Linked DNA regions of Homo sapiens: region 1 is linked to region 2. The links are contacts of gene promoters, found by promoter capture Hi-C in human tissues and cell types (Jung and others, 2019). All regions are on one chromosome and are shown on one strand. The core of a region is centred on a gene start or on the middle of the fragment in contact, and the rest is flanking DNA. Distances in the headings are between cores, read along the strand shown. Region 1 overlaps DAPK2 (death associated protein kinase 2). Region 2 holds the start of SNX22 (sorting nexin 22).

The links. Contacts are between HindIII fragments. The study calls those that stand out against the background at their distance.
Region 1: a fragment that was not itself captured here is called in contact with the fragment with the promoter of SNX22 in region 2 in 1 of the 25 tissues and cell types used here (H1 embryonic stem cells).

The regions. Positions count from the first base shown.
Region 1 is chr15:63,986,218-63,988,917 of GRCh38, forward strand. The region is part of intron 2 of DAPK2 (death associated protein kinase 2); the gene reads right to left. Among named protein-coding and RNA genes, the nearest start is that of DAPK2, 59 kb to the right of the region's middle. The HindIII fragment of the contact is 6,246 bases long and covers 1-2,700 here.
Region 2 is chr15:64,150,377-64,153,076 of GRCh38, forward strand. SNX22 (sorting nexin 22) reads left to right here and starts at 1,355. Exons shown (of 7, transcript NM_024798.3): 1 at 1,355-1,474; 2 at 1,867-1,950; 3 at 2,262-2,366. The coding sequence starts at 1,400. RefSeq lists an enhancer at 14-123 and silencers at 1,041-1,480, 1,681-2,060. The HindIII fragment of the contact is 9,247 bases long and covers 1-2,700 here.

The DNA of each region.
Region 1 (2,700 bases), core at 118-2,617, 160 kb before region 2:
TTATGCTTTCACCTGCTCTGAACATAGATTTGCTCATCTGTCAAATGGGAATCAGGGTTCCCTGCTAGAGAATTGTGAAGACTGGAAATATTTGTAATGTTGGCCCGTGGTACTCAAAAGTGGTTCATGTGAAGGCTGAGCAAGAGACATCCAGAGACATAAGTCACTGATTCAAATGGTCTGGAATGTGAAACCAAGGAATTGGTTTAATTTTATTTATTTTTAGAGATGGGGTCTGGCTCTGCTGCCCCGGCTGGAGGGCAGTGGTGTGATCATAACTCACTGCAGCCTCAAACTCCTGGGCTCAAGCAATCCTCCCAACCTCAGCCTCCCGAGTAGCTGGGACCACAGGTGCCTGCCACACCACCCAGCTTCAGTTTAATTTTAAAAGCACCACCCTACCCCGCCAATGATTCCCACGCACAGCCAGATGTGAAAATAGCTCTATTCCGAGCAAGTAGCCAACTCTTTAAATCCTAGAGCAGTGGTTCTCAACCCAGGCCACACATTGATATTGCCTGGGGAATTTTAAAACTCCTAGTGTTTAAGTCTCACCCTGAGAGATTCTGATCTCCTGGGTCTGGGCCTGAAGATGGGGCTATTTAAAAGCCCGCTGGGTAACTGACATGCAGCCAGGGCTGACTTACAACAGCTTTCTGATTATCTCCATTTCACAAATGAAGAAACTATACCACTGTTACTCATACTAGTTCCTCATTTTCAGTATTACACTTCCCCATAGTTCTCTGATCTGATCATTTCAGGAAAGGAGTAAAGAAAGGGAATCAGAGGGGAGGGGTTGTCTCTCCCATCAGCATGATTTTTGCTTGAGGGGTTCACCAGTCTAACTGCTGTGTTATGAATATGCAAATCAAGGCAGAAGATTACTCTAGCTTTCGGAGGATAACAGGAGTGAAAATTTGCAGTCAGGCACTCCCTGGCCACTGTACTCAGCAGATGCACAAAAGCAGAACCTGAGGTGGCTCTAGTATGCCCATCAGAGGGCCCAGCCAACCCAAGGGCAGGTGACAGCAACAGGCCTTTTTCTGCACACAGAAGGCTCTGCAGCCAGAAGTTGAGGTCCCACAGTGCAGAAGTCGCCAGCTAGGCTACAGGGATGATGGGTGGGAGGCGAGGGTCTGTCTACTTTAGGACAGAGCCACCCAGAATGTCATCCAGGGAGGGAGCAGAAGGGAGCAATTCAACCTCTAATGAAAGTCATTGCTAACACTAAATCAAAAATGATGGGAATACTGGAATCTGGTATACATATGCAAAGCACACATATTCCAGTATCTCTGCCCCCCATAGCAACAATCAATACCTATGCATGGTCTACTGCAGCACGGGGCTGGTAGGAGGCCCGATTCCTCGTCCTAATCTGCTATCAAAGTTTCATGGGCTTGACAGGGAGCTGCCTTTTCAGTTCATGTTTCTCCATCTGCCATCCCAGGTCTCATCTTAGAAAGCTTCCTGTCAGACAGCTCCAAAGAGCCTGGGACAACTCTAAACAGGAATGAAGCCCTTTCTCTTCACTCTCCAAATTCCTAACTCTGGGCTGGTGTCAGGAGACTGGGAGTCTAGTCAGAGCCCTACCACTAACGAGCCAGGACCCTGGGCAGCCTGTTCAACTCCCCAGGCCTCAGTTTCCTTCTTTGTCACATGGGGATGATAATACCTGCCCTGCCCACTTCCCAGGGTTGTTTGGGAAATCATGAGGTAATGTCTGAGATAGGACTTTACCATCCAGCCTTGCAGAAGAGCATGAGGTGTGGGTGGGTGGGAACTCTGTGCCTGAGACTGGCTTGCAAAAGTCACGTAGGATGGTTTCGTGAGGGACAGTAAATCCTCAAGATACAGAAAACACCCCGCTTCTGCCAGCACACTCTCCTGCAATTCTGTCAGGAACACACCCCTCTTCCCAGGCAGAGGACTCAGCTCCTCACTCACTCAGCACCTGGGAGGACAAGTGGGCTGTGTCAAGATCAGTGTCACTGGCAGATGGGCCTCATTTCCAAACTTGTCAGGCCCCCAGGTGCCACCTCATAAGGGCTCTCTAGTTGTCTGCCCAGGACTCACATTAAAAGGGGTATACCTAGAACAGCTTCTCAGTGCTCAGAAATGTCCCCAACCTCAGCTCTTAAGGTTCATGGAGGAGCCTGGCTTAATCCCCACCCCCCAAAGTCTTCACTGTCAAGGGTAAATAAACAGGGCATGAACCAAATGTCACACCACGGGATCAATTTTGTATAGCAATGTGAACATTACAACATTTACATCCAGCTTTTCCTTTTTTTTTTTTTTTGAGCTGGAGTCTCGCTCTGTTGCCCAGGATGGAGTACGGTGGCGCAATCTCGGCTCACTGCAAGCTCCACCTCCTGGGTTTAAGTGATTCTCCTGCCTCAGCCTCCTGAGTAGCTTGGATTACAGGCACCGCGACCATGGATGGCTAATTTTTTTCTATTTTTAGTAGAGACGGGATTTCACCATGTTGGCCAGGCTGGTCTTGAACTCCTGACCTCAAGTGATCTGCCTGCCTCAGCCTCCCAAAGTGCTGGGATTACAGGCATGAGCCACCGCGCCCGGCCAGCTTTTTTCTTAATGAGCTAACTTCATATTCATTCTCTTTTTCAATATTTGCAAGTATCATTTTTAGTTCCATTTCACAGATAAGAAAACTGGAGAGGTATGGTGGCTCAC
Region 2 (2,700 bases), core at 105-2,604:
CACGGGGCCTTTGTGGGGGAAGTCAGTGGAGTAGAGGACCTGCCATGGTGCTGCTGATAGCAGCTCTCCGACAGCTGAAGGGTGCAGGGCTGAGAGGTGGGAGCAGAGGTCCTTTCCAGCACATGGCCTGAGAGAGTTCTGGATCAAAATCCTGCCACATATCCAGGAAGAACCTGCCCGGAGGGGTGGACAAGAGCAACCCGGTGCCACCCCCCAAAGTCTCTCTTCCCATCCACTGCCCTGTGCCCACTTATCCTAGTCATCCAGGAGAAGCCCACAGTCAAGCTGCTGCTCAATGCTTCTGTTAAGGGCCTAACATGAATCATCTCACTTTTTTTTTTTTTTAAGACAGAGTCTTGCTGTTGCCCAGTCTGGAGTGCAATGGTTTGATCTCGGCTCACTGCAACCTCCGCCTCTCAGGTTCAAGTGATTCTCCCGCCTCAGCCTCCTGAGTAGCTGGGATTACAGGCATGTGCCACCACACCTGGTTGATTTTTGTATTTTTAGTAGGTACGGGGTTTCACCATGTTGGTCAGGCTGGTCTCGAACTCCTGACCTCAGGTGATCCGCCTACCTCGGCCTCCCAAAGTGCTGGGATTACAGGCGTGAGCCACCGCGCCCGGCCAAATCATCTCACTTTATACACTTGCCTGAAGGAGCCACGTTATCCCTATTTTGCAGATGAGCAAAGGTCTACGGAGCTCCTGAAATCCAGGCAGTCTGACGTCCAAATCGGAGTCTAGGTCCCTAAACTGCCTCTTCCCCACAAACAGCCTGGAGCCCCTTAGGGTTGGAAGATATGAGTGAATGGATGGATGAAAACAATGAATGAATGGGGGGGCCTGTGGATGCTGGGGAAAGGGGCATCAAAGCTGGACTGGGTCCAAGCCTTGCTCAGGTGTGGCCTCAGCCGGGGAATCCAGATCACAATTTCAGGGACCAGGCTGAAAGGAGGGAAAGGCTCGGGAAGGGACTGAGGAACCCAAGACAGGTCCCTGGTTGGCCCCAGGACCGGCGCTGAGGCCCGGGCCCCGCCTCCGTCCGCGCCTGGAGCCACAGGCCGTCCTTGGTAGGCGCTTAACTCAGGTTGGGTGACATTTTCGCTCGCCAGTTCCTGGCATCAGTGAGTGCTCCGTCAATGTTTGACAAACGGTTGACTCCACTGCCCCGCGCTGTGGGCGCACTAGACTTCGGGGGCGGCGTCCAGGTCCCGCCTAATCTTCTAGGCTCAGGACCCGCGGCGCAAGGGAACGCCCGGGGCGGGGTCGCCTGGGGGCGGGGCCTGGGGTGGGGCCTGCGGACCGAGGGGGCGGAGCCGGCCGCCCCGGGGTCCTCAGTCCGCTCCGGGAGAGTTAGGGCTCCGAGCCGAGCGCGCGGAGCAGCTGGGGCCGGGGCGCGGATGCTGGAAGTTCACATCCCGTCGGTGGGGCCCGAGGCCGAGGGGCCCAGGCAGAGCCCGGAGAAAAGCCACATGGTGAGCGCGGCCCCTGGATGGGGAGGGGCGCCGGGACCCGCAGGATTTCCCCGCGCTGCGCTCAGTGGGGACCCGGGGCCCGGGCCTGGGTGAACGAGCGCTGCGGGCTGGACCGTCGGGGGAAACCTTGTCGAGGGTTTGGGGGCCGCTTGGATTTGCCAGCCTCGCGGACCATGGTTCGAGCTCTTGAGGGACCCCAGGGCTCCGAGGGGCAGGTCCGCCAGCCGGTTCTCCCAGGTGTGCGGGAGCGGAGAGTCCCCGGGCAGCCGCGGCGCCGCAAGGCCGCTTTGTGCCTTTGAGAGCGGGAGGGTGGGCACGTCGCCAGGCGCAGGTGCTGCGGCGTCCTCCCGCGGGGCCTCACGCGCAGACCCGCTGCCCGCCCGCGCCGCCAGGTGTTCCGAGTGGAGGTGCTGTGCAGCGGGCGCAGACACACGGTGCCAAGGCGCTACAGCGAGTTCCACGCGCTGCACAAGCGGGTGAGGCGGCGCCGACCTCCCACCGGCCCCGGCCCAGCCTCTGTCCAGCCCCCGCCCAGGCCCTGTGAGGCGGGCGGGCGAGCCCCAGCCTCCGCCACCCCCATTACTGCCTCAGTCCCTGCGCAGCCGGTCAGCCCCCGGGCCTCTGTGGGTGGGTTGGGGCCTTCCTCGCCCTCGGCCGGTCCACCACTCACCAGGGTCTGTCCCAGTAGAGCCCGAAGGCGGGGGCGCGGGAGGGCTTCTGGCTGGGGCGAAGAGGGCTTGAGGGCTCAGTCGGGATGCTGTGATCGCACGCGGTAAACCTCCAGTAGATCAAGAAGCTGTACAAAGTGCCCGACTTCCCCTCGAAACGCCTGCCCAACTGGAGGACCAGAGGGTTGGAACAGCGCCGGCAGGGCTTGGAGGCTTACATCCAGGTATGCGAGAGCACAGTTGGTTGCCCCCCGGCCTTCTGTGCCAGGGGTGTGGCCCAGACAGAGAGGTGTGGGGGCATGGCAGGGAGGGAACCCACAACTTGGGGATGTTATTCACCACCTCAAGCATCAATTTTCTGAGTCTAATATAGGTCCAAACACCCCCCTCTGGCTTGTTGAAAGGACTGAAAGAGGTAACGGACACAGGTAGTCCCAGCTCCATGAAACCCAGGTCCTGTCCCCTCCATGGTGAGGTCCTGTGCTGCCCTCCTGATGGCATGTAGGGTGAGGGTCCTTCCCCCAACAGCAAAGCTATGCCGCGTCATGGGGTACAACC